Linked DNA regions of Homo sapiens: all the other regions are linked to region 3. Evidence: promoter capture Hi-C in human tissues and cell types (Jung and others, 2019). All regions are on one chromosome and are shown on one strand. Each heading gives the region's core, a stretch centred on a gene start or on the middle of the fragment in contact. The rest is flanking DNA. Distances are from core to core; before and after follow the strand shown. Region 1 overlaps PTPRS (protein tyrosine phosphatase receptor type S). Region 2 overlaps SAFB2 (scaffold attachment factor B2). Region 3 holds the start of ZNRF4 (zinc and ring finger 4). Region 4 overlaps PTPRS (protein tyrosine phosphatase receptor type S).

Evidence for each region. The method cuts DNA at HindIII sites, captures the fragments that hold promoters and counts their contacts. A contact is called where the count stands out against the background at its distance.
Region 1: a fragment that was not itself captured here is called in contact with the fragment with the promoter of ZNRF4 in region 3 in 4 of the 25 tissues and cell types used here (IMR-90 fibroblasts, dorsolateral prefrontal cortex, liver and 1 more).
Region 2: a fragment that was not itself captured here is called in contact with the fragment with the promoter of ZNRF4 in region 3 in 5 of the 25 tissues and cell types used here (H1 embryonic stem cells, dorsolateral prefrontal cortex, liver and 2 more).
Region 4: a fragment that was not itself captured here is called in contact with the fragment with the promoter of ZNRF4 in region 3 in 2 of the 25 tissues and cell types used here (dorsolateral prefrontal cortex and lymphoblastoid cells).

The regions. Positions count from the first base shown.
Region 1 is chr19:5,279,278-5,281,977 of GRCh38, reverse strand. The region is part of intron 2 of PTPRS (protein tyrosine phosphatase receptor type S); the gene reads left to right. Among named protein-coding and RNA genes, the nearest start is that of PTPRS, 60 kb to the left of the region's middle. RefSeq lists an enhancer at 1,492-1,661. The HindIII fragment of the contact is 3,738 bases long and covers 1-2,700 here.
Region 2 is chr19:5,606,819-5,609,518 of GRCh38, reverse strand. All of the region lies in intron 9 of SAFB2 (scaffold attachment factor B2), which reads left to right. Among named protein-coding and RNA genes, the nearest start is that of SAFB2, 15 kb to the left of the region's middle. The HindIII fragment of the contact is 3,966 bases long and covers 1-2,700 here.
Region 3 is chr19:5,454,016-5,456,715 of GRCh38, reverse strand. ZNRF4 (zinc and ring finger 4) reads right to left here and starts at 1,299. Exons shown (of 1, transcript NM_181710.4): 1 at 1-1,299. The coding sequence starts at 1,224. The HindIII fragment of the contact is 14,927 bases long and covers 1-2,553 here.
Region 4 is chr19:5,249,581-5,252,280 of GRCh38, reverse strand. The region is part of intron 9 of PTPRS (protein tyrosine phosphatase receptor type S); the gene reads left to right. Among named protein-coding and RNA genes, the nearest start is that of PTPRS-AS1, 73 kb to the right of the region's middle. The HindIII fragment of the contact is 4,501 bases long and covers 1-2,700 here.

The DNA of each region.
Region 1 (2,700 bases), core at 182-2,681, 170 kb after region 3:
GGCTCCCCAGGGGAGGTGCTGGCCGAGCTGAGGTTGAAGCTGCCAGATGAGAGGAGGAGGACGGGACCCTGGGAGGAAGGAACAGCACAGACAGTGGCTGATTGTAGCACCCACCCGCCCGGTCTTGCTTGCTGGATTGGAGGGGGCAAGGGGTGTGTTCTGGCTCTAGGTCAGACAGGCAGCTGGATGCGTCTCTACCCTCAGCCAGCTTCTGCCCTTCCTTCCAGCAGCTCCAGAGGGAGGGATTTTTACCAGAAGTAACATTCTTGACCCGGCCACAGTGACTTTTCCTCATGTCCTTGGCTGAGGACGCATGGCCCCGGGTCACCATTCCTGAGGCCAGAAGGAGGGGGCAGCCCCAGCCTCAATGTGGAGCAAAACATCTGCCCTAATCAGGCTCAAGTTCTGGATGTGGAAGGGACAGTAAGATGTCGGCTTTGGAGGCAGAAACCCGGGTTCAAATTCCAGTGCTGTTATTTCTGAACTCTGTGATCTTTTTTGTGGTGGTTTGTTTTTTGAGACAGAGTCTTGCCCTGTCCCCCAGGCTGGAGTGCAATGGCGTGATCTCAGCTCACTGCAACCTCTGCCTCCTGGATTCAAGCAATTCTCCTGCCTCAGCCTCCCGAGTAGCTGGGATTACAGGCATGCGCCACCATGCCGGGCTAATTTTTGTATTTTTAGTAGAGATGGGGTTTCACCATGTTGTTCAAGCTGGTCTCGAACTCCTGACCTCAGTTGATCCTCCCGCTTTGGCCTCCCAAAGTGCTGGGATTACAGGCGTGAGCTACCATGCCCAGCTTCTGAGCTCTGTGAACCCATTAACATTCCTGAATCAGTACAGTGGGATTGGCTGTTGCTGCAACAGAGGGATAAATAAGAGTTGAGGGGCCAGGCGCGGCGCCTCATACCTGTAATCCCAGCACTTTGGGAGGCTGAGGTGGGTGGATCATTTGAGGTCAGGAGTTCGCGACCAGCCTGGCCAACATGCTGAAACCCCCTCTCTACTAAAAATACTAAAATCAGCTGGGTGTTGTGGTGGGTTCCTGTAATCCCAGCTACTTGGGAGGCTGAGTTAGGAGAACCACTTGAACCTGGGAGGCGGAGGTTGCAATGAGCCAAGATTACGCCACTGCATTCCAGCCTGGGCAACAGAGCGAGACTCCATCTCAAAAAACAAACAAAAAAAAAAAGTTAAGGGAGGCTGTGCATTCCTGTACATGGTGGGTCTAGTGATTTTTTTGTTTTGTTTTGTTTTGGAGACAGAGTTTTGCTTTTGTCACCCAGGCTGGAATGCAATGGCAGGATGTCAGCCCACTGCACCCTCTGCCTCCTGGGTTCAAACGATTCTCCTGCCTCAGCCTCCCAAGTAGCTGGGATTACAGGCACCCGCCACCACGCCTGGCTGATTTTTGTATTTTTTTAGTAGAGACGGGGTTTCATCATGTTGGCCAGGCTGGTCCTGAACTCCTGACCTCAGGTAATCCATCCGCCTCAGCCTCCCAAAGTGCTGGGATTACAGGCATGAGCCACCACGCCCGGCCAGGTCTAGTGACTTTTGGGACAGATGCTCAAAGCACACACATACGGTCATATCAACAGGAGCAGAGCCTTGAGTGAGGGAGGTTAGGCTGGTCAGGCCACTGGGGCAGGAACTCTGTTTTGTTTAAAGCCCAGCCTGAGCCATGGATGGGTAGGCGTTGGGGCCCACAGGGACCTACCCTTGGAACCTCGGGCCTTCTTAAGGCCTCTCTGGGCTTCTGAATAGCTGGAACTTTCCAGAACTTTTCTGGTCAACCTGTGTGGCCCCTGGACTCACTCTACCCTTTTCTAGCTGGTCGTAGAGGCTCAAAGTCCTAGCGTTGCTCAAGTTTGAGTTGTTAGACCTCAGCCTCTCCTCAGACCCCAAACTTTTACTTAAAACAAAGTTTTGCTCCATTTTTTCTTTAATCAGCTCACTTTTTTATTTAAGCAATTTTATGTTTTAAAATAACTTCAGGCTGGGCGTGGTGGCTCACGCCTGTAATCCCAGCACTTTGGGAGGCCAAGGTGGGTGGATCACGAGGTCAGGAGATCGAGACCATCCTGGCTAACACGGTGAAACCCCGTCTCTACTAAAAATGCAAAAAAATTAGCCAGGCATGGTGGCGGGCGCCTATAGTCCCAGCTACTCGGGAGGCTGAGGCAGGAGAATGGCGTGAATCCGGGAGGTGAAGCTTGCAGTGAGCCGAGATCACGCCACAGCACTCCCGCCTGGGTGACACAGTGAGACTCTGTCTCAAAAAAATAAAAATAAAAATAGATAACTTCAGCTGGGCACGGTGGCTCACACTGCTAATCCCAGAGCTTTGGGAGACCGAGATGGGAGGTTCACTTGAGCCCAGGAGTTCCAGACCAGCCTGGGAAACATAGCGAGACCCTGTCTCTGCAAAAGATTAAAAATTAGCCGCATGTGGTAGCAAGCGCCTGTGGTTCCAATTACTCAGGAGACTGAGGCCAGAGGATCCCTGGAGCCCAGGAGTTTGAGGCTGCAGTGAGCTATGATTGCACCACCGCACTCCAGCCTTGGGTGAGAGTGAGACCCTGTCTCTGTAAAAAAAAATAAGAAGAAGAAGAAAAAATAAAATAAAAATAAAAATAAAAATAACTTCTTCAATTTGTCTTTAGTTCTACATGTAAAAAGGTACCAAAGTGGAAATCTCT
Region 2 (2,700 bases), core at 41-2,540, 150 kb before region 3:
CAGCCTGGCCAACATGGCGAAACCCTGTCTCTGCTAAAAATACAAAAATCAGCCAGCCGTGGTGTTCTGTGCCTGTAGTCGCAGCTACTCGGGAAGCTGAGGTGGGAGAATCACTTGAACCCAGGAGGCAGAGGTTGCAGTGAGCCAAGATTGTGCCACTGCACTCCAGCCTGGGTAACAGAGCGAGACTATGTCATAAAAAAAAAAAAAAAAAAAAAGAATGAAGTGAATAATTGACTTTCATATCATTTAGCATTTTAAGTATATAGTCTCATAACTAGAACATGATCGTGGTTCAAAAATAAATCACTAAGATGCTGCTCATGGGGGTGGGAGAAAAATAGTACAATTCAGCAGCTTTCCAAAGGAAGGTGAGGACAATTTAAAATGATTCCACTGTTTGAAATTAATTAAGAGTCTTCTTTTTTTGTTTGTTTGTTGTTCTTTTTTTTTTTTTTTTTTTTTTTGAGACTGCGTCTCGCTCTGTTGCCCAGGCTGAAGTGCAGTGGTGTGATCTTGGCTCACTGCAGCCTCCGCCTCCCTCCCAGGTTCAAGTGATTCTCGTGCCTTAGCTTCTCGAGTAGCTGGGATTACAGGCACCCACCACCATGCCTGGCTAATTTTTGTATTTTCAGTAGAGATGGGGTTTCGCCATGTTGGCCAGACTGGTCTCCAACTCCTGACCTATGTGATCTGCCTGCTTGGCCTCCCAAAATGCTGGGATTACAGGCGTGAGCCACCGCGCCTAGCCAAGAGTCTTCTGGTAAGCAATTGGCACTGCCCTGGTCTCCTGGGTGCCTCTGGGGAGTGGCTTCCAAGGGACAAGGTTCGGACCATTTAGTGTCTGGAGGGTGCCCTGATTCCAGGCAGAGTGGGCCCTGTCTGACACAGTTTTCTGGCTACAGAAGCCGTTCCTTTGTCTAGGTCTGTGTCACCCGATCAGGTGTTGGTTAATGTTTCATTGCTTAAGAAGCGGACAGGACCCGGAGAAAGCGTGCTGTTCAATTTTTCTCTGAACAGTCTGTGTGTTCAGCAAGGGCTTAGGAAATTCTTATAGCCATGAATAACCTGTTTATTCAGTTACTTTGTTGACTTCACTCGGACACTGATGATTAAGCAGAGGTAAACATACGTGGTCACTGTCATCACAGATTTTTTAGTCTGGCGGGAAAAAGACCATTTAAGAAATAAACACATATGATGTGTTGTGATGAGCGTATTAAGGAATATTAGAGCACGCCGTCAGTGTGTTGGGGAGGCCGTGTTTAGATTTGGGAGGCAGCTTCAGCAGAGCTCGCTGAAGAAGTGACATTCAGCTGAGGCGTGAGTGACAGAGTTGGCCTTACCTGTGGGGCTCAGCTCTGGACAAAAACAGAAGGACGTAGGAAGGCCAGAGGGGCAGGACACCACTCAGCTACTTGACTGAAGTATGCAGAGCCTCCAGGGCGGATGGCATAGCTCAGGGATAGGGACATACAAGCTTAGTATGGTGCCTGCTCTCATTTGGGTTTTGTCTGTCATCAGAAGAGATATACTTGTAAGGATGATTAATTTGATGGGAAGGTAGAATGGGAAGTGGCATCTGTGTTTCTCTCAGGAGAGTCTTCTGTCCCTTTGGCCCTGGACAGATTCAGGCAGAGCCTTGACTCCTCCATTTGTGTGGTCAAAACCAAGGACGTCAGATGGGAACCTCAAGCTTGTGGGTTCCACCTTGTCATTTCACAGTTGGGGCCATGAGGTCCAGAGACGGGGAATGCCTTGCTTAGGTTGATGCCCTGAGTCAGAGATAGGGCAGAGACCAGGACTCCTGTGTCCCGGGGAAATGTTTACTCTGCGCGCCAGTGGTGGTGGGCTTGGCGTTAGATCTACTGTCTTGTTCTCTATTTTCTGTTCATGTTTGTTTATTGATCTCTTTTTCCCATTTATCTGCCTTCTTGTGGGTCGAGTCCTTTTTATGACTGATGGCTTATTTGCTCTAACTCTGTGTCATTGTGGTTTACTGTAGGATTACAGTACACATCTTCCCTTACAGTCTGTCTGCAAGGGGTGCTCTGTTGGTTTCAGCGTAGTGCAAGAACTCTGTGGGAATATACTTGCATTTCCCCTCCCGTCGATCTTTGTGATGTTATTGTCATACGGTTTACTTCTCTTTAAGAAGTCACCCAATATTTTATTGGCTTTGACTTGTTGTGGTTTGGCTTTTTTGCTTTGAACAGTTGTGTTTTTTTTTGTTTTTGTTTTTGTTTTTGTTTGTTTTTGAGACGGAGTCTCGCTCTGTCGCCTAGGCTGGAGTGCAGTGGCGCGATCTCGGCTCACTGCAAGCTCTGCCTCCTGGGTTCATGCCATTCTCCTGCCTCAGCCTCCCAAGTAGCTGGAACTACAGGTGCCCGCCACCAGGCCTGGCTAATTTTTTGTATTTTAAGTAGAGATGGGGTTTCACTGTGTTAGTCAGGATGGTCTTGATCTCCTGACCTCGTGATCCTCCCACCTCGGCCTCCCAAAGTGCTGAGATTACAGGCGTGAGCCACCACGCCCAGCCAAACAGTTATATTTTAAAGAGACCCAGAAATGACAGGAAAAAATCATGTTCACCTCACCAGGTGCTCTTCGTTGCTTTTTGTTGTATATCCAAGTTCCCATCGGAGATCATCTTCCTCCCTCCTGAAGGAATTGAATGTTTCCTGTAGTGCAGGTTTGCTG
Region 3 (2,700 bases), core at 50-2,549:
GCTGCAGTGGCAGTGGGGACTGGCGCGGCCCAGCAGCTCCAGCCTCCGGGAGCGTAGCTGGACTTGAATGGCCCAGATGGGGGGCCGGTGGCCCGGTAGGGAGGGGTCCTCGTCCCTGAAGCTGTAGGTGGTGGAGTCAAAGCTGTCTTCTGTGGCGGCCACCGACTGTTTGCACACGGGGCAGGAGCGCCGGGGGGCTTGGGAGAACCAGGGGTCAATGCATTTGCAGTGGTAGGTGTGGGAGCAGGGCAGGATCTTGAGTTGGTCGCCCTCCTCATACTCATCCAGGCAGATGGCACACAGGTCGTTGTGCCACGTGAAGGTGCGGACCTGGGCCTTCTGGCAGGTAGACGTCTTCACCGGCCGTCTGTGGCTGCAGCAGGCCTGGGCCCAGAGCCACAGGTGGTTCAGGACAAAGAAGGCTGATACGACCAGGGCCAGGGTACAGCCCAGCACCCAGGACACGGTCAGCACGGGGTGACAGCCCAGGTCGTGGCACGGTGGGTCGTCGGGCAGGAGCAGCGCGTGGGCCGACTTGTTGCAGCCCAGGATGACCCGCAGGTCCTGCGAGGCGGCCTCGCTCACGAACACTGAGGGGATGGCGATCTGGCCCCTCAAGTCCTCGTAGACGTGGGTCATGCTCACGAGGTCGTCGGAGTGGACGTTGTGCACGATGGCCGCCTCGAAGCCGGCGCGCTGGGCGTTCAGCACCTTGAGGTCGAAGGTGCAGTCGTAGCGGCGGATCAGCACGATGGCGCCCAGAGAGCGGTTGCCCAGTCGCGGGGCCTCGATGGGATGGCACGCGTTGGCTGGCTTGACCTCCATCAGGTAGCCCCGTATGCCCTCGGGGGCCAGGGGGACGCCGAACAGCGCCGGCAGATCCGCAAAGTCCACCGAGCTCGAGTTGTCTTCCAGCACGGCCCGTACCACTGCCTGCGCGGGCACCTGGAGCAGCGACAAGACCAGCAAGGCTTTGACTGCCACGAGGGCTCGGCCCGGCCGTGGCCACCCCATGGTCACCCGCTTCGCTGTCTGTGTGCTGCTAGGTCCCACTGGAGGCGGCAGGCATGAGGCCTTTGGGCATCTCCGGGGTCTCCCAGGGGGCCTGTGGCCAGGACGCGAGGGCAGTTGAGTTGGAATGACCGCGTGGCTCAGAGGCAGTGACGCGGCCACTGGGACCCTGCTGGCTCTAGGCATTAAGTGCTCCGGACGGCAGAGCGGCATGCGTCGTGTCTTTGAAGGCCGGTCTCAGGAGGTGCTGGCGCAGGTGGCCTTTCTGGCAGATGACATGGAGACCAGGAGTCACCAGGGTTCTAGATGCCCCCAGCTTCTGTGACATCGCCCTGCTACATTCTGTCCCAGGAGCTGCCAGCTGCCTGGGCCTGTGGCCAATGGATCATTCCTAGGTCTGTGATTTGCCGGTACCCGGGCAAGCTTTGAGATAACTTCTTGAAGGCTCAGGGTATCTTTGGACCCAAGGAGGCCCAGGGATGCTTCAAAAGGGCTGCCGGCCCCCAGCAGTGCAGATTCAGCCCTCACTGTGCGAAGACGCTACCAGCATCAGCTTCTGGAGGTTCCTAGCAACACACTGTAGAAGGTTCAATGTTACCCTTGTCTGAGACTCCAAGAGTGACCCAGACTTGTTCAAGCCACGCCCCCCTACAATGAGATCAGTGCTTAAAACCCAAATTCCTGACCCCCTGTCACCATCCCTCACTCTGCTCCAGCCACACAGATCTCCTTGCTGTTCCTCCAACACACCAGGCAGGATCCTGCCCCAGGGCCTTTGCATGGGCTGGGCCTCCTGCCTGGAAAGCCCTTTCTCTCCGTAGCTGGCTCTTTTATCCGGACTCAGGTCTGAGTCCATATATCCTCAGAGCCCTCCTGGACTTGATTTGGAGGGAGAGTCAAGTGCCAGGGTCAGGGTGGGGCTGGTGGGGGTCAGTGGTCCCAAGTCCGCACCGCCAGGTTGGCCTCCAGGCTTGCACCAGCTTCATTCTCTCTCCCTATAGCATTGCCTCTCCAGCTGGGTCTCCAACTGTGCCCCCTGCCTGAGCTTCAGCCCTGGGCATCAGCCTCACCTCCTCCCCAGTCCCCATCCCCCAAATTTCACACCCTCAATCTGTCTGCAGCCCACTCAAGTCGGATTTCTGTCTCTGCCATTCATAAGCTGTATGACATCAGCTAAATTCCTTAGCCTCTCTGGGCCTCAGCTTCCAGACCTGTAACATAGTCTTTCCCATGCTCTAAACTCTCCCATGGCTCCCCATTGCCCTCCAGATAAAGCCCACACTCTTCTCTGTGGCCTACATGCACCCCTGTGGTTGGGCGCCTGCCAATCTCTGAAGCCTGGATGATTTGCAATGTCCCAGAGGCATCTTGCTTTGTTCACCTCTAGAATTTTGCAAATGCTGTTCCCTCTGCCTGGAACAGAATTCTTGCTCCTCAACTTCACTTTGCCAGGCTGACTACTTAGTCTTTAGATTTTCTGTGTTGGCCTAATACCTCTCAGAGCAGCCCTCAGCCAGTGACAGATGGGAGGTGGTAGATAAATGCCCCCACTCCCTCGTCCCTCTTATGGGACAAATCGAAGTATGTTCTACCATATCTCCTAGAGGTCCCCAGTCGAATGAGCTCCATAAGTCAACGAACCCAGTACTGTCTTGTCAATGAGCCCGCTACTGTCTCCTTCCCTTCCCC
Region 4 (2,700 bases), core at 167-2,666, 200 kb after region 3:
CTACCTTGAAGGGTCTGAGGATATCTTCAAGGTTTTGGAAGAGGCCGATGGGACTGGCATAATTTAACGCAGAGTCTTGAGTGCTAAGCTAAGAAACCAGTACCTGCTGCGTGACACCAGCAAGGCCTAGATTGCCCGATTCCCAGGTCTTCTTTTTCAGTATTTGTGACCTGTCCCCAGGCCTTTTCAGATCAATCCATCTATGCAAATTTATGGGGAAAAATTGTTTTTTAAATTAAATTTCCAATACCCAAGCCCTAAAATTGATGGATGTGACCCCAGGTGTTCCCCTTACCTCTTGGCCCCCCAAAACAGGGACAGACATAGATGGTGGGCTGGAACACCCCTCACCTCCTGTATTCCCAGAAAGCCTCGCGTTGAGGTGTGTTGGCCAGCTCCCTAGTTTGTGCTTACTATACCTGGCCACGCCTCCCTACCTAAGGCCGCTGGCTTAACCCTAGGGGCAGGCAGTGTTAGATCAGACCCAGACCTTCTCATCCCACCCTCATCACATCGGGGAGAGGGGACTCCAGGGGCGGGAAGGCAGGCGTCCCTCCATTTGGCCAGGGTGGGCGGCGAGGAGGGGGTCACTCTGCAGGAACACTGAGCTCTGAACACCTCTCGCCTGCTGCCTGCCTCACACCCTCTGCATTCGCTGTTTCCTCTGTTGGGGGAGGGGGTTTGTGAGGGGAATATTAGATTACACCTTGTCATTTGGAAAGCCCCGTGTCTCCGGCGGCCACAGCGAGGTTGGGGGGGTGGTGAGGGAAGTCCATGGATTGGCCAGAACTGGGGGAAAAACAAAAAGAAATGAGAGAAAGAGAGAGCGGGTACCAAAAAAAAAAAAAAAAGTATCTAGAGCGCATCCAAAGGTCCAGCTCAAAATACCAATGACTTGCCAAGGCCGCTGGTCAGCCCGTGGGCCAGGGAGCCAGCCAGGTCCCTCCGGGCCTTGCACGCTACCTCAGTGGCGGAGGGAGCTGGCGGTGGGGGGGAGAGGCGGGAGGGAGGGAAGGAGGCACAGCAAAATGATGGAGAAGGGTAGCAGAAAATACGCAGGTGGGCTGAGGGGCGGTGCCCACCCTCCTTGGGCTACAGGCTGGAGTTCAAAGGAGAGGACAAGAAGTGGGCTATGGAATTAGGAATGTTTCCAACCCCTCCCTTCCCCCCCGACAGGTGTAATCTAAGCTTAAATAAACCCCCCGGAGGCTGCACAATTTCTTGGCATCTCTCCCCTGCCCTCTCCATCCGCATATTCATTTTGGAGTTTGGAGAAGTATCTAGAATCTTCTCCCACCCCAAAATGCCCAGCAGAGCCCCCCCCCCCCCCCCCGCCGCCCCCGCACCCCTTGGAGCTGCGGCTTGCTGAATCGTTGAGATGTCTGACACTGTCGGGGTTCCCTACCTAGTGCTTCAACCAGATCACCTCACTTTTGAGTTTCCTTCCTCCCCTTTACCCTCGCCCCCACTCCCAACCCCCTTTTTTGGTTTTTGTGTTTCTGCCTCTTCCTGCCTGGGGGAGGGGTCGTCTCCTGGTTGCTTTGACGGTTTTTGAGTTGTTTTTCCATGTGAATCGGGGTTTGAAGCGACCACCCCCCACAACCTGCCACCCCCCCACCCCACCGCCCACCCTCCCGACCCCCTCGCCCAAGCGGGTCCCCCCGCTGGGACCCCCCGGCTACTCGGTGACGAGAAGAGCTGGAAACCAGAGCCAGCTGGAGCGTGCTGAGGACCAAGGCTGGTGTGGTCCCCTTATAACCTGCCTGGACCCTCCATTCAGGTCGGTAATTGGGGGCGGGGGTCCCGCGGGGCCTCTCCGTCCCGTGGGCACCGTGCCCACCTTACTTTCTAACCTGCACCTCAAGCTTGCAGCCGGGGGTGGAAAGATGACATGGGTGGGTGCCAGCACCAAACCGGGCAGAACACAGCGTCAGTCACCCGCCCTTGCCAGCTGGGAGGATGCCCAGAGGCCTTACAAGGCCGCCAGGGAGGGGGAGATCTGAACCACCTAGTGCCAATGGGCATGATCCTCCCTTAAACTCGTGGCAAACCAGCCCTCTTCCTAGAGCACACCCTTTGAAACAAATGAGGCGGGTGAGAAAGCAAGTGGGCAAGTTTCTTAGGTGTCAGAGGAGCCATTATAATTTATTGGCAGGTCCATTTAACTGATGGTTGCCGGCCATGTTGGGGATTGTGAACCCTAAAATTACTGCTGTTGATAAATGCCCTCCCACATTAAACTGATTTATAGTTAACCCTGTACTGCAAGTCTTTTACATATTCAACAGGTATCCCCTTGTCTCTACTTCTAAAAAAAGTTAAAGGTACCTTGCAAATTATGACATCCCTATGGAGAGATATTTTAAGATAAGATCAAACAGGAACAGGGTCTTTTGGATAAGATGTTGACCCTTACAGAATAGATAAATTGGCCTGGCACTTAACCTTTAGATCCTAAAGCTAGATCTTACTCCCTTTGACGTTCCAACAATTCCTTTGAGTATAAGCCTTTTACTGATGGCTTCTGGACATTTATTATGATGGCTACTGGATATTATTCAACCAGTGGCAACTGGCCATTACATGGAGTTTGGTATAGGTGATGGGTACTTTTTTCCTCTTTGGTGTCCCCAGTGGGTCAGGACACACAAGTTTGAAAGAGCTAGATGCCAAGGATTGATACTTGGCCGTAATCCTCGT